Regions from separate parts of the Homo sapiens genome. Here all the other regions are linked to region 3. Evidence: promoter capture Hi-C in human tissues and cell types (Jung and others, 2019). All regions are on one chromosome and are shown on one strand. Each heading gives the region's core, a stretch centred on a gene start or on the middle of the fragment in contact. The rest is flanking DNA. Distances are from core to core; before and after follow the strand shown.

What was found. The method cuts DNA at HindIII sites, captures the fragments that hold promoters and counts their contacts. A contact is called where the count stands out against the background at its distance.
Region 1: a contact is called between the fragment with the promoter of RAB3A here and the fragment with the promoter of UBA52 in region 3, in 1 of the 25 tissues and cell types used here (dorsolateral prefrontal cortex).
Region 2: a fragment that was not itself captured here is called in contact with the fragment with the promoter of UBA52 in region 3 in 1 of the 25 tissues and cell types used here (spleen).
Region 4: a contact is called between the fragment with the promoter of SLC25A42 here and the fragment with the promoter of UBA52 in region 3, in 2 of the 25 tissues and cell types used here (lymphoblastoid cells and spleen).

The regions. Positions count from the first base shown.
Region 1 is chr19:18,201,823-18,207,337 of GRCh38, forward strand. It overlaps RAB3A (RAB3A, member RAS oncogene family), which reads right to left and starts at 2,220. Exons shown (of 5, transcript NM_002866.5): 1 at 2,074-2,220; 2 at 691-918. The coding sequence starts at 918. It overlaps LOC102725254 (a long non-coding RNA gene), which reads left to right and starts at 2,908. Exons shown (of 2, transcript NR_134910.1): 1 at 2,908-3,077; 2 at 3,634-3,741. RefSeq lists enhancers at 1,462-2,244, 2,277-2,571, 2,757-2,856 and silencers at 2,237-2,626, 3,512-3,571. The HindIII fragment of the contact is 10,728 bases long and covers 1-5,515 here.
Region 2 is chr19:18,964,583-18,970,272 of GRCh38, forward strand. No RefSeq gene overlaps it. Among named protein-coding and RNA genes, the nearest start is that of HOMER3, 26 kb to the left of the region's middle. The HindIII fragment of the contact is 8,790 bases long and covers 1-5,690 here.
Region 3 is chr19:18,568,153-18,573,138 of GRCh38, forward strand. It overlaps UBA52 (ubiquitin A-52 residue ribosomal protein fusion product 1), which reads left to right and starts at 3,705. Exons shown (of 5, transcript NM_001033930.3): 1 at 3,705-3,757. KXD1 (KxDL motif containing 1) reads left to right here. Exons shown (of 5, transcript NM_024069.4): 5 at 250-1,226. The coding sequence ends at 479. RefSeq lists enhancers at 3,039-3,715, 3,086-3,205, 3,416-3,755, 4,394-4,986. The HindIII fragment of the contact is 7,230 bases long and covers 1,494-4,986 here.
Region 4 is chr19:19,061,828-19,066,793 of GRCh38, forward strand. It overlaps SLC25A42 (solute carrier family 25 member 42), which reads left to right and starts at 2,167. Exons shown (of 8, transcript NM_178526.5): 1 at 2,167-2,288. LOC124904655 (a long non-coding RNA gene) reads right to left here and starts at 1,698. Exons shown (of 3, transcript XR_007067160.1): 1 at 1,363-1,698; 2 at 217-324. RefSeq lists silencers at 1,639-1,808, 2,069-2,338. The HindIII fragment of the contact is 11,421 bases long and covers 1-4,418 here.

The DNA.
Region 1 (5,515 bases), core at 970-3,469, 370 kb before region 3:
TTAAAGGAAGCTGACACTTGCCTGTACTCCCAGCTACTTGGGAAGCTGAGGCGGGAGGATTGCTTGAGCCCACGAGTTCAAATCCAGCCTGGGCAACAGAGTGAGACTCTGTCTCTTAAAACTAACAAGGCCAGGTGGGGTGGCTCATGCCTGTAATCTTAGCACTTTGAGAGGCTGAGGTGGGAGGATCGCTTGAGCCCAGGAGTTCAAGACCAGCCTGGGCAGACATAGCCCGACCCTGTCTCTACAAAAAAGAAAAAAATCAGCAGGCGTGGTGGTAGAAGCCCGTGGTCCTAGCTACTCAGGAGGCTCAGGTGGAAGAATGGTTTGAGCCTGGGAAGTCGAGGCTGCAGAGAGCCGTGATCACGTAACTGCATTCCAGCCTAGGGGACAGAGCAAGACCACCCTGTCTCAAAAAACAAACAAAAAAAGAGAATGGGGACCAAGATCCAGCTGAAACCTCATACATGGAAGAACTTGAAGATGGGGAAACTGAGGGACCAGGATTAGGTGCTTATGGGAGAACACAGGTGCTGTTTCTGCCCCGGTACACAGTGGGCACCTTACTGATAAATGCCCAGTGTGTAAGTGAATGACTCCAGTCAGGAAAGAGATAGACGAGGTTGGGGCTGCTTTTCCAAGTACGGGAATCCAACCGAGCCGGGCGGGAGCCCTCCAGCTGGGACCCACCCAGATCTGCAGCTTGATCCTCTTGTCGTTGCGATAGATGGTCTTGACCTTGAAGTCGATGCCCACGGTGCTGACGAAGGCAGGCGTGAACGAGTCGTCAGCATAGCGGAAGAGGAAGGACGTCTTGCCCACGCTGCTGTTGCCGATGATGAGAATCTTGAACATGTAGTCGAAGTTCTGATCCGAGGACTCCTTCTGCCCATAGCGCGAGTCTGTGGCGGATGCCATCTGGGGATACCGGGTGTAGCAGAGCCGTGAGGGGGGCTCTCTCCATCCTCATGTGCCCAAGCCCAGGCAGAAGATGGCAAGGGCTCCAGAAAACGGCCGGTGTATGGAGGACACCCTTATCCCATCAGGAGCCCCAGTATTAATTGGTGGTGCCCCCAGCAGAGGGCAGCCTGTGACCTTGAAATCCTGGGCGTTTCAGAGGAGGGGCTCAGAGGGTTGCCGATGGGGACACCCCAGCAGCCCCCTTCAAGGGGCAGGTGCCCCAGGTGGGGCTGTAACCCTAAACCCAGGGCTGAGCCCGGAGGGGGTGACTGCGGCTGGCTCCGCCCCCCATCAATCTTTCATGGTCCTCAGAACCCGGCCGCGCGGCCCCACGTGCACCGCGTGCATGGTCCCTCGAGGACGCGCATCTGCAGCCCCCGCTCCCCGCAAACCTCCAGGCCGGAGAGCTCCGGCCAAGGCCGCTGCATCACATGATACAGGAGGGGCATGCACACGCTCACGTGCACACAGCCTCAAACACGCTCATCCGTACATACAGGAGTGTGTGAACGCACTGAGGTGCACAGGACAAAGACACAGACACCTGTTTGCACACCGACTCGCCTATAGAAATGTGCAAACCACCCGTGCGCACAGGCCCCTCCACCCATGCAGGCGTGTGCACATCACCCACACGGACACGGATCCCCGTGCTTGTATGCACGGGCCATACCTGCACAGGCGGTCCACACGTCTTTCTCCACGCGCGTGCAACGCTCACACACTTAGGCCCAGACCCCCACGGCGTCACACGAGCATATCCAGGTACACAAGCAAGGGTGCACACAGACCCGCTGACACAGGCAGGCGCGCACACGCGTGTGCACACCACGCGCACGCGCACGCAAAAGCCTCCCGCGCGCACAGCTTCCCGCAAGGAGCTCGGCTCCCCTCCCCCTCCGCCGCAGAGCAGGGGGGTTGGGGGGGTTAGTGGTGAGGATCAGGCAGGAGTGGGGCGCCCGGGCCCTACCCATTCCCAGCCTCGCGACCGCCGCATCCTTCCCCCCATTCAACCCTAGTCAACCTCGTCCCCCACCTCCATCAGCCCATCAGTCAAATGAAGGTTATGCAGGTGCTCGGAGCCTGAGCACACCCGGCCGCCCAGGAGCTCACCTTGCCCTGCACCGATGCAACGGCGACCCTAGCGGCGGTGACTTTTTTGGCGGTGGCGGTGACAGGACCCCGGTGCGTTGATGTGGGGCTGCGCGGCGGCGGCGGCAGCAGCGGCTCAGGCCCCTGCAGTCCTCCGTGACGTCCTGCAAAGGGAGGGGCGGAGCCTCACATGTAGATAAGTCCGTGACGCCATCCGGAGGCGGAGCCGCGCGTAGAGATGTGGCCCATTGACGCACGCAGAGCCAGATGGGGCAGGGCTCCTGAGCAGATTGACGTGCAAATGGGGCGGGGCCTAGCGTGTGCATCCAGTAGGGGCGGGAGCGGCGCGGGGGCCGACTCCGCCTCTCGTCCGCCTCCTGTCCGCCTCGGGGAGGCGGGGCCCCTCAGCGTTCTCTCACTGGCTTAAGCTCTCGAGCGACGGGCGAAGTAGCCAATCAGAGATTGTCTACGCCCTCCTCTTGTCCAATGGTGGCATCTGGGAGATTGAAGGGCCGAGAGGCTGAGGCCTTGGCTGAGCCCCGGTCTTCGAGGGGCGGTTCCCTTACCCGCCCGCACCCACCCCAGGTAGGGGACTCTTGAGGCCACCGTCTAGTCCAAGGTGCTGTGACCCCTGTTAAATGCCCCTGACTCCCAATTGCAGAAAAGAAAAATCGAGGCCCAAGAGATGTTTTATACCCTCACATATATGGGGTTCAAAATAAATACCAAAGAATAAACAGGAGTCAAGAGGGACCCCTGTCCCATTCCCGAGGCGTAAGACCCCCCCACTGAGGGAGGGGCTAGTAAAGACTCCACCCCTCCCCCGTTTCTGAGGTTTGAAAAGAAAGAAGTAGAGGTCAAGAGAGCCTCCCCTCCCCACCATTCCCAGAAAAGGAGGAAGGGGCTGATGGACTCTCTGGGAACCCCCTCCCCTCCCTGCGCCCCGTCATCAAGAAGAAAATTCGAAGAAAAGGTTTAGCAGGGACAGAGAAGCGACCTGTCCCGGAAACCCCTTAAAGCCTGCGGTAAATGCCCCGGGAAACAGGGAGGGCACGAGCCGAAGCCTCCAGCTCTTCAAAGCTCGGATTCAAAGACCCGGGGGCTGGGAGACCCCCTCCCTCCATCCTGGGAAAGCAAAACTCAGAGGATGGAGCCTTTTGGGAGCTAAGATGGTCCATCTTTTATTCCTCCAAATCTTTAGGGAAGGAAGTCAGAATTTGGGGAGGGAGGAGGAGCCCGAAACCCCAGCCCCCACTTTGGGTCTCCTGCTCCCCCTACTCCAGCTTTCAAACCCTCCAGGGGTGTGTGGCCCCCAGGAGAGTCCTGATCCCCTAGATTCTCCCCCCACCCCTCCCAGTAGGCGGGGCTGGAGCGTGTGTGTGTGGCGGGGGGTGACTCGTCCTGTTTATAAAAAGCTCGCCAGCTGCGGAGGCGCCGAGAGACCAGAATAACTTAGCGCCTCGAGGCCCAGCCGCCGCCAACCCAGTCCCCAGCCCGCCCCCAGTGCCCTGGGAGTACTGGGACGCCCACCCCCACGTCCCCGCACCGTTTACATTTGGGAAATTTATTTTTTCTTTTTAGGGTAACATGTTTGCTCCCTCCTCCCCCACTCGGACTATAGAAGTATCACCAATCCACTGCAGAGAAATTGGGAAAATTCAGAAAAACAAAAAATAAAAAGAAATCCACCTCCCATTCTCCCTGCCCTCCGCGCCCACGCGGTAGTCCGTGCTCTGTGGGGGGCTCCAGGGCAGCTGGTCCAGGCCCTGGCCTGCCGCCTCCTTGGAGGGGAGGTTTTTCGGTTGCTCAGCTCCCTGATCGCCCAAAGGCACGCTTCCTACATGGGTGGCTCTCTCGGAAATACCTCCTGCCTTTTTTCCCCAGGAAGAGAAAAGTGAGCCACGAGAATGTGCGGAAGCTTCCGTCACTGACTTAGTATTTTAAAGTAAAAATAGCCGGGTGCGGAGGCTTACGCCTGTAATCCCACCACTTTGGGAGACCAAGGCGGGAGGATCGCTTGAGCCCAGGAATTGGAAACCAGCCTGAGTAACATAGGGAGGCCCCATCTCTACAAAAAATTTAAAAATTAGCTGGATGTGGTGTCGCGTGCTTGTGGACCCAAATACTCCCGAGGCTGAAGTAGGAGGATCACTTGAGCTCAGGAGGTCGAGGCTGTAGGAAACCGTATCGCGCCACTACACTCCAGCCTGGACGACAGAGTGAGACGCTGTCTCAAAAAATTAATTACTTAATTTAAATTTAAAAAGAATGCAAGCCCTTGATTGTCCAGAGCAGCATTGGGCTCTGGAATTAGAAATGGTTGAGCTGGGGGAGGGGCTGCGGGATTGGGGTATTTTCTTTGTGTCAGGGGAGACAGAGCTGGTGGGAGAACGGGCTAGGCTTCCAGGCCGGTCCCACTCAGAGGAAAGTCCAGAGGCTTCCCTGCATCCCTACCCTATCGTCTACACTAGACAAATAAAAATAAAAATGTGGCCAGGTGCGGTGGTTTATGCCTGTAATACCAGCACTTTGGGAGGCCGAGTCAGGAGGATCACTCCTTGACCTTGAGGTCAGGAGTTCGAGACCAGCCTGGCCAACATGGTGAAACCCCATCTCTGCTAAAAATACAAAAATTAGCCCGGTGTGGTGGTGCCTGTCCCAGGAGGCTGCTCAGGAGGCCCAGGCATGAGAATCGCATGAACCAGGGAGGCGGAGGTTGCAGTGAGCTGAGATCACCGGCACCACTGCACGCCAGCCTAGGTGCTAGAGGGAGACTCTGTCTCAAGAAAAAAAAAAAAAAGTATCCCAGATACGGGTCCAGGGACGACTTCTCGGGGAAGAAGACACTAACTTAAAACCCAGTGTGGGGGCCAGGTGTGGTGGCTCATGCCTGTAATCCCAGCACTTTGGGAGGCCGAGGTGGGTGGATCACCTGAGGTCAGAAGTTCAAGACCAGCGTGGTCAACATGGTGAAACCCCATTTCTACTAAATATTAGCCGGGCATGGTGGCGGTCGCCTGTAATCCCTGCTACTTGGGAGGCTGAGGCAGGAGAATCGCTTGAACCCGGGAGGCAGAGGTTGCAGTGAGCCAAGATCACGCCATTGTCCTCCAGCCTGGGCAACAAGAGCGAAACTTTGTCTAAAACAAAAATAAAAACAAAAATCTAATGGGTGAGGCTGGGGGCTGAGAGAGAAGCATTCCAGGTAGTGGGAACAGCTTGTTTGAAGGCCCTGTGGTGGGACCAGGCTTGCAGTGTGGCCAGAGCAGATGCAGTCAGTAAGAGGAGAGGGACAAATGCCTTTGGCTCAAACTGAAGGAGAACATATGAATATTCATTTATAAGAAATATGAATATTCTAGGGCTGGGTGCAGTGGCTCATGCCTGTAATCCCAGCACTTTGGGAGGCCGAGGCAGGCGGATCATGAGGTCAGGAGTTCAAGACCAGCCTGGCCAACATGGT
Region 2 (5,690 bases), core at 1,144-3,643, 400 kb after region 3:
CATTTCTTTCTTTTTTTAATTTTTATTTTTTGAGACGGAGTTTCGTTCTTGTCACCCAGGCTGTAGTGCAGTGGCACGATCTTGGCTCACTGCAACCTCTGCCTCCCTGGTTCAAGCAATTCTGTCTCAGCCTCCCGAGTAGCTGGGATTACAGGCGTGTGCCACCATGCCCGGCTAATTTTTGTATTTTTAGTAGAGACGGGGTTTCACCATGTTGGCCAGGCTGGTCTCAAACTACTGACTTCAGGCGATCCACCCACCTCGGCCTCCCAAAGTGCTGGGATTACAGGCGTGAGACACTGTGCCCGGCCTTCTTTTACGAGATGGAGTCTCACTCTGTCGCCCAGGCTGGAGTGGAGTGGTGCAATCTCGGCTCACTGATACCTCTGCCTCCCAGGTTCACGCTACTCTCCTGCCTCAGCCTCCCAAGTAGCTAGGATTACAGGCATGTGCCACCATGCCCAGCTAATTTTGGTATTTTTAGTAGAGATGGGGTTTCACTATGTTGGCCAGGCTGGTCTTCAACTCCTGACCTTGTGATTCACCCACCTCGGCCTCCCAAAGTTTTGGGATTACAGGCGTGAGCCACCGTGCCCAGCCGCAACTCATTTCTTTTTTCTTTTCTTTTTTTCTTTTTTTTTTGAGACAGAGTTTAGCTCTTTTTGCCCAGGCTGGATTGCAACGGCGCGAGCTTGGCTCACCGCAACCTCCGCCTCCCGGCTTCAAGCGATTCTCCTGCCTCAGCCTCCCGAGCAGCTGGGATTACAGGTGCCTGCCACCACACCCGGCTAATTTTTTGTATTTTTAGCAGAGACAGAGTTTCACCATGTTGGCCAGGATGGTCTCGATCTCTTGACCTCGTGATCTGCCCACCTTGGCCTCCCAAAGTGCTGGGATTACAGGAGTGAGCCACAGCGCCCGGCCAACTCATTTCTTTTCTAACAAAAAACAGCCTGAAAAATCGAGCTGCAGACATGGATAAGCAAGTGGGAAGCTTCCAGGGGTGAATACCAGCAGCTGTGTCAATGGAAAAGGGCCACCTGAGGGCCTGGCATGTTCAACATGGGGGCTCCAGCTTCCCTTTTTTTTGGTCACTACGTGTACAGTAAAGAAACAGGTTTTAGTTTGGCTGGGCACGGTGGCTCATGCCTGAAATCCCAGCACTTTGGGAGGCTGAGGCAGGTGGATCACCTGAGGTCAGGAGTTCGAGACCAGCCTGGCCAACATGGCGAAACCCCGTCTCTACTAAAAATACAAAAATTAGCCAGGCATGGTGGTGGGCGCCTATAATCTCAGCTACTCAGGAAGCTGAGGCAGGAGAATCGCGGGAACCCAGGAGGTAGAGGTTGCAGTAAGCCAAGATCGAGCCACTGCACTCCAACCTGGGCGACAAAAAAAAATGAACAGGCAACATGGCGCCAGCCAGCTAGAGAACTCATCTGCATAATAAAAGATTAAGAAGCCAGGCGCAGTGGTTCATGCCTGTAATCACAGCACTTTGGGAGGATGAGGCAGCAGATCATGAGGTCAGAGTTTGAGACCAGCCTGGCCAAGAGACCAGCCTGGCCAACATAGTGAAACCCCATCTCTACTAAAAAAATTAGCCGGGCATGGTTGCAGGCACCTGTAATCCCAGCTACTCAGGAGGTTGAGGCAGGAGAATTGCTTGAACCAGGGAGGCAGAGGTTGCAGTGAGCTGAGATCGCACCATTGCACTCCACCTGGGAGACTCAAAAAAAAAAAAAAAAAAAGAAAGAAAAGAAAGAAAAAAAAGATTAGGATGGGAAGGCCAGCTTTTCACACCCTATGCAAATTACACACATAGCCTTAACCAGGTTTTTACACCCTATGCAAATGAAACACCTGGTCCAACCAATCTTTTGTGCCCTATGGAAATCAGACACCACCTCCTTAAGCTCATCCATAAAACTCACTGCTTTTTACTGAGGAAGTGGAAACCCGTTCAAGATCCCTCTCTCTGCAGCAGAGAGAGCGCTTCTCTTTCTTTCACCGATTAAACTTCCACTCTGAACCTCACTCTTTGTATGTCTGAGTCCTAGTTTTCCGGGCCTGTGAGACAACAAATCTTGGGTATTTACCCCAGACAACAACACTACTCCAGTGGGAGGGAACACTTGAAGCCAGGAGTTTGAGGCCGGCCTGGGCAACTTATTGAGACACCATTTCTATAAAACAAACAAACAATAAGCAGGGGCTAGGCATGGTGGCTCACGCCTGTAATCCCAGCACTTTGGGAGGCTGTGGCGGGCAGATCACCTGAGGTCAGGAGTTCGAGATCAGCCTGGCCAATATGGTGAAACCCTGTCTCTACTAAAAACACAAAAATTAGCCAGGCATGGTGTCAGGTGCCTGTAGTCCCAGCTACTTGGGAGGCTGAGGCAGGAGAATCACTTGAACCCAGGAGGTGGAGGTTGCAGTAAACTGAGATCGCACCACTGCACTCCAGCCTGGGTGACAGGGCGAGACTCCAACTCAAAAAAAAAAAAAAAAAAAAAAAGCTGGGCACGGTGGCTCATGTCTGTAATCCCAGCACTTTGAGAGGCTGAGGTGGGTGGATCACCTGAGGTCAGGAGTTTGAGACCAGCCTGGCCAACATGGTGAAACTCCGTTTCTACTAAAAATACAAAAATTAGCCGGGAGTGGTGGCACACGCCTGTAATCCCAGCTACTAGGGAGGGTGAGACAGGAGAATCACTTGAAAGGAGAATCACTTGAACCTGGGAGGCAAAGGTTGCAGTGAGCCAAGATTGTTCCACTGCACTCCAGTCAGCCTGGGTGACAGAGAGAGACTCTGTCTCAAAAAACAAACAAACAAAACAGTCAGCAGGAACAGGCTCCAGGGAGAGACGTTCTGCTGCCTGGGTTGGGAGGGCTATGAGAAGTTGGCAGAAGGAGGAGCCTAGGGAGGTTCCTAGATTTTTCTGAGTGCTTGAGGACTCTCTCTCTGATTTGGGGAGGCTTAGGGAGCACTGGGCAGCTCTGAGAGTGGCCTGGGAGCCTGGCTGTGCCCCCTGCAATCCTGATGCTTTGGGGTAAGCAGGTGTTTGCCCCACCAGGCCGGAGGGCAGAGCAGTTCCTCTGGAACATCTCCCAATGCACAAAGGTTCTGGATATGGGTATGACTGTGAACTTCCCCTCGGCAAATACCTCCCCGACGGAAATGCACACGCAGCCTTCTCTCTTGGAATAAGGCAGGAAAATAAAAAAATAAAAATAAAAAATAAATGTATAAGAAGGTGAAGTCACAACGGGCAGTAGACAGTTGGGGATATTGCACCATCCCTGCAGGAAGGAAGCACCTTGGAGCTGACCCAGGCCGCCTCACTCTGCTTCCTTTTGAAACGCTCGTGACTTTTCAAATACTGCATTTTGCTGACAGGGCAAAGCATGCTCAGCTGGCCATGACGACAGGCTCTCTGGAGACTTGGAGAATGTTCCAGGTTGACTCAGAGGAATGCAGGTTGGAATCCCTGCTTCATCTCTGGTTACCTCTGTGAGCTTGGGCAAGGATGGGCTTTTTATTTTTATTTTTATTTTATTTTATTTATTATTATTATTTTTTAAGACAGAGTCTTGCTCTGTCACCAGGCAGGAGTGCAGTGGCAGGATCTCGGGTCTTCGCACCCTCCACCTCCTGAGTTCAAGTGATTCTCCAGCCTCAGCCTCCTGGGTAGCTGGGATTAAAGGCACCTACCACTACACCTGGCTAATTTTTGTATTTTTAGTAGAGATGGGGTTTCACCGTGTTGATCAGGCTGGTCTCGAACTCCTGACCTTGTGATCCGCCTGCCGTGGCCTCCCAAAGTGTGAGCCACTGTGCCCAGTCCCAGGCTTTTTAATAAACTCTTCTGGAGTAACTGGGTATCTGTGTGGCACAAAATAAACCTTGATCCCTACCTCACACCCTACACACAAAAATTCACCTTTGGGGAAAGCCCTTTCTCACTCTGAGTCTCTTCTGGGCCATGGTTTCCAACTCATAGAGCTGCTGTGGTACTGGGTCCCAGCAGCCCTGCCTGAACACTTCGCAAAAAGTAACTATCATTGGAGGTGTGGGGGTTCATGCCTAGAATTCCAGTGCTATGGGAGGATGAGGCAGGAGGATCACTTGAGGCCAGGAGTTCTAGACCAGCCTGGGCAACATATGCAGACCTCATCTGTCATATATATATATATATATATATTTTTTTTTTTTTTTTTTTTGAGACAGAGTTTTGTTCGTTCCCCCAGGCTGGAGTGCAGTGGTGCAATCTCAGCTCACTGCAACCTCTGCCTCCCAGGTTCAAGCAATTCTCCTGCCTCAGCCTCCCAAGTAGCTGGTGTGTACCACCATGCTTGACTATTTTTTTGTATTTTTGGTAGAGACGGGGTTTTACCATGTTGGCCAGGCTAGTCTCTAACTCCTGACCTCAAGTGATCCACCCACCTTGGCCTCCCAAAGTGCTGGGGTTACAGGTGTGAACCACAGCGCCTGGCCCCCACCTCTTCATATTGTCACATGGGTCTTAGGCTTCCACATATGAATTCCAGGAGGACACATACATTTGGGCCATAGGAGAGACAACACATCAGACTCTCAGGAAGGACTGAAGGGGTGGGAGTGGGATTCTGTATTCGATGGGACTCTGCAAATTTGAATTGTTCACATAGTATACAGTGATTCCCTTTTATCGGAGGTTTCACTTTCTTTCTTTCTTTCTTTTTTTTTTTGAGATGGAGGCTTGCTCTGTCTCCCAGGCTGGAGTGCAGTGCTACGATCTCGGCTCACTGCAACCTCCACCTCCCAGGTTCAAGTGATTCTCCTGCCTCAGCCTCTGGAGTAGCTGGGATTACAGGCACGCACCACCACACCCAGCTAATTTTTGTATTTTTAGTACAGATGCAGTCTCGCCATACTGGTCAGGCTGGTCTTGAACTCATGACCTCAGGTGATCCACCTGCCTGGGCCTCCCAAAGTGCTGGGATTACAGGCGTGAGCCACCGCACCCGGCCTGAGGTTTCATTTTCTGTGGTGTTGGCTACCTTCCATCAACCTCAATCCAAACATATTAAGTGGAAAATTCCAGAAATAATTCGTAAGTTTTCAGTTGCCTGCCGTTATGAGTAGTGTGATGAAATCAGTCCCCACCCCGCCCCCTCCCACCCTGGATATGAATCATCCCTTTGTTAAGGGTGCCCACGCCATAGACACTACCAGCCGGCTAGTCACTTAGTAATCTTCTGGGTGATCAGATCAACCGTGTCAGTATTACAGTGCTTATGTTCCAGAAATCCAAATTTTATTAATTTTCTATTTTATTATGTTATTGTTGTTAATCTTTTACTGTGTCTCACTGATAAATTAAACTTTATCATAGGTATGTATGTATGCATAGGAAAAAAACAGTGCATACACGTTTGGTATTTTCTGAAGTTTCAGGAATTTACTGGCAATCTTGGAACATATTCCCCACAGGCAAGGGGGAACTATTGTATTATTTTGGTATTCAAAATAAAAGAGGCTGGGCATGGTGGCTCATGCCTGTAATCCCAGCACTTCGGGAGGCCAAGGCAGGAGCAATCGATCCCTTGAGCCCAGGAGTTCGAGACCAGCCTGGGTAACATAGTGACAGCCCGCCTTTACAAAAACTTTGAAAAGTAGCCGGGTGTGGTAGCTCGTGCCTGTAGTA
Region 3 (4,986 bases), core at 2,455-4,954:
GCTACTCAGGAGGTTAAGGCAGAAGAATCGCTTGAACCCGGGAGACGGAGGTTGCAGTGAGCCGAGATTATACCATTGCACTCTAGCCTGGGCAAAGAGCGAAACTCCGTCTCAAAAAAAAAAAAAAAAAAGGGTCAAGTCATACCCCCATGGGGTGAGGGCAGCCGTTAGGGGTCACATGGACAATAAGTCCTACATCACAGAGCTTGGCAAGGTGACAAAACCAACTCTTGGGCCTCCTTCCCCCAGATATCCCAGAGGCATCCTTCCTGGAGGAAGAGGATGAAGACCCCATCCCACCCAGCACCACGACCACCATTGCCACCTCAGAACAGAGCACGGGCTCATGTGACACCAGCCCCGACACCGTCTCGCCCTCCCTGAGCCCCGGCTTCGAGGACCTGTCCCATGTCCAGCCTGGCTCCCCAGCCATCAACGGCCGCAGCCAGACAGATGACGAGGAGATGACGGGCGAATAGCCCTGCTGCCCGGTGCCTTGAGGGGGTCTCAGGGCAGCAGCATACAAGGTGGCAGCGGGTAACCCTGCCTTGTTCTGTCATCCAGGGCTCCTTTGCTGCCCCGTTCTGTCACCCAGGGCTCCTAGGGGGACAAGGCTCTCTCCCGAGGGGTGTGGAATTCCTGGGGGGGTCTTTAATTCTGGCTCCTTCCTTCCTCAGAACATCTCTATTCTGCAAGACCCCTCTGCCATGCCAGGGCACGCCCATTCCAGCTGGAGTCGTGGGGCTGGGCACAGGGGAATTTTTCCAGAGCTGAGCCTGACGTCTGCTCTGAAGAATGCTTAGAAGGTTCCCAGACACCAGAGCCAGATGTCCCCCACCACCGGTCAGGACCTCCTTGAGGTGCACAAGCACGGTCTCCTCTGAGTTCACCCCAGCCCACCCCCGCACCCACTAATTCTGCTTTTCCTGCCCCTTGCTCCGTAAAAGTATCAAATACTTTCTCCTTGGTATCTCAAGGAGGTTTCTGAGATAGGTAGAAGTCTTGAGACGGAGGCTGGCCATCCATTCAGCCCTGAGCGTGCTGAGTTCTGTGTTTCTCTGAATAGAGGTGTGGAACCTGAGGGGCCAGCAGGCCTCTCTGAAGGCCTCCATGGAGCAAACGGAGCCACCTCGGGAAAGAGTTTAATGGAATATTTTTGTACCCGATGTTTACAGATGCTGTTGGGAAGTTATCAATAAAAAGACACCATTACTAAAAAGGGAAAAGTACACCTAGCTGTGGCTTCTTCAGTCCTTAAGCCAAGCAACCCAAAAGGAGGGCAAGTGCTGGATGTGGGGCTGGGGGCCCTGCTGGAGGGAGGTGCAGACAATCAGGCACTACAGGGCTAGAAAGAGATGTGGCCCTTTTTTGGAACCCCCCCTGGTGGGAGCTATAACAACCCAAGTTCCCGTCACCAGCTAGGTCTTCCCTCACGCTGCTGTCACTGCTCACAATACTAGTGTTCCCATCCTCATTTCATAATTCCTTCTCCAGATCTCAGCCTTCCTCCAGATAGGGGAGCCACACTAGATCCATTCCCCATCAGACACACTCCCAGGGTTACCTCATCTTCTGAGTACTTAGAAATTATGTTGTTATGACCGGGCTTGGTGGCTCATGCCTGTAATCCCAGCACTTTGGGAGGCCGAGGTGGGTGGATCACCTGAGGTCAGGAGTTCGAGACCAGCCTGGCCAACATGGTGAAACCCCATCTCTACCAAAAATATAAAAATTAGCTGGGTGTGGTGGTGTACACCTGTAATCCCAGCTACTTGGGAGGCTGAGGCAGAATTGCTTGAATCCAGGAGGCAGAGGTTGCAGTGAGCCAAGATCGCACCACTGCACTCTAGCCTGGGCAAAAAGACCAAAACTGTTGTCTCAAAAAAGAAAAGGAAATTAGGTTCTTAAAGGCATCTTCCCAGACGTGAGAGTGTCTGCTTTTGCCTGGTATAGTAGTGCCTGCAAATGTTCAAGGAAATAAACAGGTACCCCTGTTAAGCCTATAGGTAACTTCTCATTGCTCCCCATCTTCTCTGTACTCAGCACTTTTTTTTTTTGTTTTGTTTTTGAGACAGCACCTCTCTGTTGCCCAGGCTGGAGTGCAGTGGCTGAATCATGGGTCACTGCAATCTCAAACCTATGGGTTCAGGCAATCCTCCTGCCTCCGAAGTAGCTGGGACTGCAGGTGCGCACCACCACACCTGGATAGTTCAAAATAAAACTTTTTTTTGTAGAGACAGGGTCTCACTATGTCTTCCAGGCTGGTCGTGAATTCCTGACCTCAAGTAATCCTCCCTCTTTGACCTTCCAAAGTGCTGGGATTACAAGTGTGAACCACTGCACCCGCCGTGGCACTTTTTTTTTTTTTTTTTTTTTTTGAGATGGAGTCTCACTCTGTCACCCAGGCTGGGTGCAGTGGCGTGAACTCAGCTCACTGCAACCTCCACCTCCCGGATTCAAGCGATTCTCCTGCCTCAGCCTCCTGAGTAGCTGGGATTACAGGCACCCGCCACCACACCTGAAAAATTTTTGTAATTTTTTTTTTCTTTTTTGAGACGGAGTTTTGCTCTTGTTGCCCAGGCTGTAGTGCAATGGCACTCTCTCGGCTAATTGCAACCTCTGCCTCCCGGGTTCAAGCGATTCTCCTGCCTCAGCCTCCTGAGTAGCTGGGATTACAGGCATGCGCCACCACGCCCAGCTAATTTTGTATTTTTAGTAGAGATGCGGTTTCTCCATGTTGGTCAGGCTCGTCTCGAACTCCCGACCTCAGGTGATCCGCACATCTCGGCCTCCCAAAGTGCAGGCGTGAGTCACCGGACCCAGGTCCCGCCCTGGCACTTTTTAACCACCCACAAATCTGGATCCTACACTGAAAAGAGACACTGCAGTGGCTCACGTCTGTAATCCCAGCACTTTGGGAGGCCAAGGCGGGCGGATCACCTGAGGTCGCGAGTTTGAGACCAGCCTGACCAACATGGAGAAACCCCGTCTCTACTAAAAATACAAAAGTGGCCAGGCATGGTGTCGCACACTTGTAATCGCAGCTACTCGGGAGGCTGAGGCAGGAGAATTGCTTGAACCCAGGAGGCGGAGGTTGCGGTGAGCCGAGATCGCGCCATTGCACTACAGCCTGGGCAACGAGAGCGAAACTCCGTCTCAAAAAAAAAAAAAAAAAAAATCCTGAGTCCCGCTTGACACCTTTTGTCAGGCACCACCACCTTTCTGGGCGAATGCGGTAGTACCGTCTGCTCTCCCTGCTGCTGTCCTGAAATCCATTCAGGCACAGCGGCCGAGAGCTTTATAATAACCGATTCCAGGTGTTAGGTGCTTTCCCAGCCCCGACTCCTGCGTCCTGGACCCGCAGTCCTCTGCTTAATACCTTTGCTTTATTAGAAAACATTCTCCTCTACTCCGTTCAGCTATTCGCTGAGGGCCCGCCAACCGCCAGCGGTTGTCAGTGGCCTAGAGGCAGCGGACGCAAACACGGGGAGAGGTGCAATCGTCTCAAGTGACTCGGCGGGCGGGGCCCACAACCGGAAGCGGGTGGGCGACCTTCACCCACGTGCGCTGCGGCTTCGTTCGCCAGCATCCAAGATGGCGGCAGGGCGGGGCCCAAGGCGCGGCGCGAATTGTGACGCAGGCGTCCGGCGTGCTCCGTGCGCAAGCGCTTTCGGCGGCGATTAGGTGGTTTCCGGTTCCGCTATCTTCTTTTTCTTCAGCGAGGCGGCCGAGCTGGTTGGTGGCGGCGGTCGTGCGGGTTCGCGCCGGGCCGAGAGCGGGTTGGGGGCTGCGGGAGGCTGCAGGGGCCTGGGCGGCAGAAGAGGCGGCCCTGAGCTGGCTCATGCGGGCCAGTCTCGGCAGGGTGGCTGGGCAGGGCTCGCGAGGCCACGGCTCGGAGCCCAGACCGGGGCCCAGGAGGCGAGCGCCGTTTTGGAGAGGAGCCTGCCTGCTCTGCCTGCCAGCGTGACCCCACGAGGCCTCGGGCGGGAAGAGGTCCTCGGGGCAGATCCGAGTTAATGAGAGAGGGGTATTGAGCGTGTAGCGTTAACTCTGCCAGTCACTGCGTCAGTCGCTTTGGAAATACTAAATTTCTCGAGCTGAGTCTTCATACCTGGCTCCATTACTACGTCTGTAAGGAGGAGCTGGTGGTAGTGTCTGCTTTTTAGACTTTTCTTTAGACTATTTGTATTTTTTTCAGATGGAGTCTTGCTCTGTCGCCTAAGCTGGAGTTCAGTGGTGCGGTCTCGGCTCACTGCAATCTCCACCTCCCGGGCTCGAGCGATTCTTCTGCCTCAGCCTCCCGAGTAGCTGGGATTATAGGCGCCTGCCACCACGCCCAGTTGATTTTTGTAGTTTTAGTAGAGACGGAGTTTCACCATGTTAGCCAGGCTCATCTTGAACTCTTGACCTCAAATGATCCGTCTGCCTCGGCCTTCCAAAGTGCTGGGATTACAGGCATGAGCCCCTGCGCCCGGTCGATTCTTTGTCTTTTTAAGTCAACTTTTATATGTGAACAATGCTTGGCAGGTGGTTGGTAGATACTAAGTGATGTTCGTGGTTTGGGGTCAAGGCAAGAAGTGGGGTCTGGAGAGTTTTGGTGTAATTGAGAAGGAAGCTAAGAGTGTTGGGTGCTCCAGCTTGGAGTTAGAGAGGAGAGAGGCTGCGACAGGAAGGCATGTGTGTTGTAGGGGATGGCTTCCCATCCAGGCTGGCAGCAGGAGCAGCCTGTGCAGATCAGGACCTGGCTGCCGTGGAAGAGGGTGGGACCGCCTTCAGGGAAGATGGATCTAGCAAGATGATGCCAAAGGGTACTTATTCCATCAGGAGATACTGACGAGTCCTTCCGCCGCTAAACCTAAGGAGAATAACCACAGTCTGTGTTCCTGAAGAGCACCCGTGCGGTCAGGAGGGTGGAGGACATGTGGTCTTTAGTTCCAGGACATGTTTAGACTACAGGCCAGGGTGTGTGAGAAGCCTAGCAGGGCC
Region 4 (4,966 bases), core at 917-3,416, 490 kb after region 3:
ATGAAGCGCTATTTACAGAGAGGGAAACAGGCCCAGAGAAGAACAATATATCATCACCAGCCTTCCATGAGTGCTTACTGTGGACGAAGCCATTGTAAGTGTTTTGCTTCCATTTCATCAATGCTCACATCAGCCCTAGGAGACAGCCGGGAAACTGAAGTGGGGAGCTTGTGTTATTTGCTGAAGGTCCTGTGGCTGTTACTGGCCATTACTTACGTTAAAAAGAGCAGGGATTCAAACTCAGCCCTGGGTCCTTCCACCAAGGAATATTCTCCACCATAGGCTCAGTTTTCTTATCTGCTAAGTGGGCACTGTCACGTCCACCTGGAAGTGAGGTGGGGAGATGGTATTGGAGAAAGCCCAGTGGGGACCTGGCACCCAATTGATGTTCAACTGACCTCAGCTTCCCCCTCTTCTCTGGAGGGCAGAATGGAGGCCAGATCCTGGAAGTTGCCAGGAAGCAAACCACAGGTGGGAGGTATGGGAGAGGAGGTCCAGGTAGGCATATCGTGAGAATATCAGGAGTTTGATGATGGCCTTGGGCTAGTGATTTCCCGTCACATCCTCCCCATTTGAAACTTGTGGATCACACACTTAGCAGGGGCTTGTGCAGCCCTGAAATGTGAGCCCTTTCTAAGGTTGGTTTCAGCCTTGCTCCCTCCCAGGATTCCCTGGTTCTGAACTTGATCTCCACCAACCCTGGCCAGCACCTAGAGGAAATAAGAGCTGGTATCTGGAAACATTTGTAGCCCTCTCCATCCTGAAGATGAAGGGTGAGTCATAGAACAGAGTGGCTTCGGGGGAGGTGCCGATGACACAGCCATGCCTGGGATGGCAGGTGTCTCCCTAAACTGCCGGCATTTTTCTGCACTTCACAGAGGAGCTGAGGCTCACAGGCCGCACATGACCTGCTCAGGGTCAAATGCTTTCACCAGATAATTAAAATGAGAGCTGAGTTGTAAATTTTCCCAGGGAAGCAACCCCAGAGAGGAAAGATCAAGGCATAGGAATCATTTTCCCCCCTCTTTTCCAAATGAAACAGCTGAGGCTCACAAGGGCTTTTGCCCAAGGTTGTGTGGTGGGCCAGTGATTGGACAAGGATTCAAACCCAGGTCTCTGAGGCCCCCAGTGGCTCTTCTCTGACACACTCTTTCCAAAAAGCAGGCTGCTCTAGATTCATTCTCTGGTTTAGCAACCAGAGAATGCTGTGTAACCTTGGGCAAGGAGCTTGACCTCTCTGTGCTCTGGTTTCTGTAAAAGGAGCCAGTGGTCTCTCTGACCTCATGGGATTGTGGTTAAGATTCAGTTAATTCAAAAAAAGACTTGGCAGGGAGAAGGCCCAACAGGGATGTCACTGGATACCGTGGCGGGGAAAGCTGGGACGCAGAGAGGTCAGACACTCAGAAAACCACGCAGCGCGTTTCAGTAGGATTCCGCCCCTTATTTCCATGTCTTCACACCACCTCGAGATGGAGAGGGCAGTTCAGAGTGACCTCCAGCGAATCTGCCCTCTCCGTGTCGTCTGCAGGGGATTAGTGGGGAGTAAGGGGATAGAGAATTATCCAGGAGTCCTTCAGCCTTGATGGTCCAAGTTCACATCCGCTTCTGTGCTAGGTGGCCAGAGGGCGGGCTCTACACGAGAGCCTCAGGGGACCCTGCGCCAGGCGTCCGAGGCCACGTCGGGTTGCCGCGCTCCGGGTCGGACTGCACCTTGAACGCTCCAGCCCTCCCCTGGGGGCGTACCGCCCACGGCCGCTGCGACTGGCCGCGGGGCCTGCCAGTCTTCGGCTTTGCGGCCAATCCCGGTCTCCCCCCAAGCTACGCCCTCCGTTCCTCTCGCCTCTGCCCCACCGGTAGCGCCAGTTTCTTCGTAGCCCCGCCCCTGGCCCCCAGCGATTGGCCGACAGTTCTGCCTGTTTTCTGCCAAGATTCCAATCCTCGCCTGCCTCCAGGCCCTCGCCTCCCAGCGCCTAGCACCCTGAGGGACCACTCAGGCACCCCAGGCCTCTCCCAATAGCCCCACCTCTGCCAATCAGCGATTGGCTTTAGGGGCTGCCCATCTGCTTCATACTCGCCAATCACTGTCGCTTCCAGCGCTGACTGGCCAGGGAGCAGCCAATCGGGGCGTGGCGTGGACCCCTCCCGTGGCGCGCTCTGGGGGTGCGCGAGGCGGGGCCGTGGCGGCTGGAGGTAGCGGCGGCGGCGACGCGTCCGGGCCGGTGAGGGGGCGCGGGGGGCGCCGGGGGGGCCCAAGCGTCAGCGGCCCGCGCCTGTCGGGCTGAACTGAGGTGAGGCACGGGTCCTGTCATGGATCCCGGGGCGAGGGGCGGATGAGGCGGGGCATGACAGTAGCGTCGCGAGGGCAGGAAGAGGTTAAAGACCCCCCCCAACCCCACACTCCACGTCTACTGCCCCCTGGGGGCTACTGCATCCAGGTTTGAGCCCGTCACCCGCAGTCCACGCACGCCTGACACCACGTCCCTTTTCGTTGACATCCCCCATACACTTTAGACTGTCCTTGCTGACATCTCCCACACCCCTGGGGCCTTGTCCCCGGCGCCCCGCACAGCTGGGTCTGACATCCCCCTCACACACCTGACACCGCGCCCCCACTCACGAACACCCGCCCCCACTCACGAACACCCCCCACATCACCTGAGTCTGTCCTTGTCGATGACACCCCCACACCCACACCTGAGCCTGTGACTCCTAACTCATGGCCTCGCAACTCACACCTGGACCTAGTCCCGTCCCCCACTGCCTTTCCTCATATCCAGGTATCTGCTCGCTACTCTCGTGCCCACTCCCCCAGCAACCTGTGTCTCTCTTCTCAGGGACCTTCCCCCTGGCACCTGCCCTCTGCCCTGGCAGCCCCACACCTCTGTCTCCCCCTTTTCTCTCTCCCACCTTGGGCTTTCTTCCACGTGCACCTGTGTTCGCACACCCTCTGTAATAATCCCCCCGAATCCCCCAGGTCCTCCAATAGTCCCCCAAGCCTTGGTATCTCAGGATCGCTGCACCCTCCCCTCCCCAAACAAAAGCTTACCCCAGTGTTCATTTCTAACAGTGCTTGACAGTCTATAAAGTGATTTCCGGACCTTAGAATAATCCCATCTGTCAGACCAAACCGGAATCATCTCCATTTTACCAGCCACAGACCTAAACCACTTGAATGCTAGAGGCAGAGCCTATTCTACCCTGGGCATCGCTGACCCTCTGCTGTGGACCCACCGCGTTTGGGCCCATCTGTTATGTTTATCTCAGAGGGATTGGCAGGAGTCGTGACTTTGACTGGGTCCGGAAAGGCTTAGCTGGAAGGGACGGCCCCTCTGCCAAGCGTGTGTCTCGGAGTCCTGGGGCAGGCTGGCGGTGGAGACGCTGCCGGAGGAGGGGGGCTCATCATCTTGGGTGCCTCCTGCAGGATGCCGGAGAGGGGGTTGCCGGGGCCGGGGCTCCCAGCTCTTGCAGACCCGGGACCCCTCTCCGACACTCCCTGGGCCCTTGAAGCCGATAAAGAGTAAGGAAACACTCTTTAGAGTGAGGCAAACTAATGTTTCAGCTGTTTAAAGCTAACCTGCAAAACGAGCCTGGGTGGTGCTAGGAATGATTCTTCTGGAATTTTTTAGTTCCCTTGAGTCTGATTTGCAAGCATGCAGCATAGAAGGAGGACAGTGGCTTTGTTGTTGAAAAGCAATAACGTGCCATTTCCTGTAAGGCTCCTGGAGCGTTTCTTACCCCCTCCCACCGCTCCCTGCAAAGACGGTACCAGAATGTTTCAGAGGGTCATGTCACCTTCAGCTTCTCCTGTGGAAACTGAAGCCATTTGGGTTTTCTGTCCAACTTCAATAGGAGTCATTTAAAACATATATGGGCATGTATGTATATATGTATGTATATGTGTGTGTGTTGTACACATATGTACATGTACCTATAATATTCATATGTTTATATACATATTTTATATATACATATTTCGTGTGTGTTATATATGTACATGTGTATAAACTTTGGCAAGATCATTGAGTATATAGTTTTTGGGTTTTTTTTGAGACGGAGTCTTGCTCTGTTGCCCAGGCTGGAGTGCAGTGGTGTGATCTCGGCTCACGGCAACCTCTGCCTCCTGGGTTCATGCAGTTCTCCTACCTCAGCCTCCTGAGTAGCTGGGATTACAGGCATGTGCCACCACACCCAGCTAATTTTTGTATTTTTAATAGAAACGGGGTTTCACCATGTTGGCTAGGCTGGTCTCGCACTCCTGACCCCAAGTGATCTGCTCGCCTCAGCCTCCCAAGATGCTGGGATTACAGGCGTGAGCCACCACACCCGGCCTATTATATAGTTAAAAAGAAAAAATCAAACAGTACAAAAGGTCACATAGTAGAAATCAGTCAGGTCTTCCCCAGCCTGTACCCCGTTCCTCCTCAGATGCACCTGCTGTTGATAATTTCTTATGTTTTCTTCCAGAGGTAGTCTATGACTGGGGTGGCAGAAAGGGGTCGGGGGAGGTATATATCCCCCACCCCTTTTAAACCACTGGTAAATTTGCATTGAGCAGACATATGCATTCTAAGGCCAGTCCCTTACTGATGGCTGTTTAAGCTGCAGCCCATATTTTTTTTTTCTTTCTTTTTTTTTTTTTGAGTTGGATTCTTGCTCTGTCGCCCAGGCTGGAGTGCAGTGGCGCGATCTCGGCTCACTGCAAGCTCCGCCTCCCAAGTTCAAGCCATTCTCCTGCCTCAGCCTCCTGAGTAGCTGGGACTACAGGCACCCACCACTACACCCGGCTAATTTTTTCATATTTTTTTAGTAGAGACGGGGTTTCACTGTGTTAGCCAGGATGGTCTCGATCTCCTGACCTTGTGATCAGCCTGCCTCGGTCTCCCAAAGTGCTGGGATTACAGGCGTGAGCCACTGCGCCCAGCCACTGCAGCCCATATTTAGCTTTTACAAACAGAGCTGCAATGGA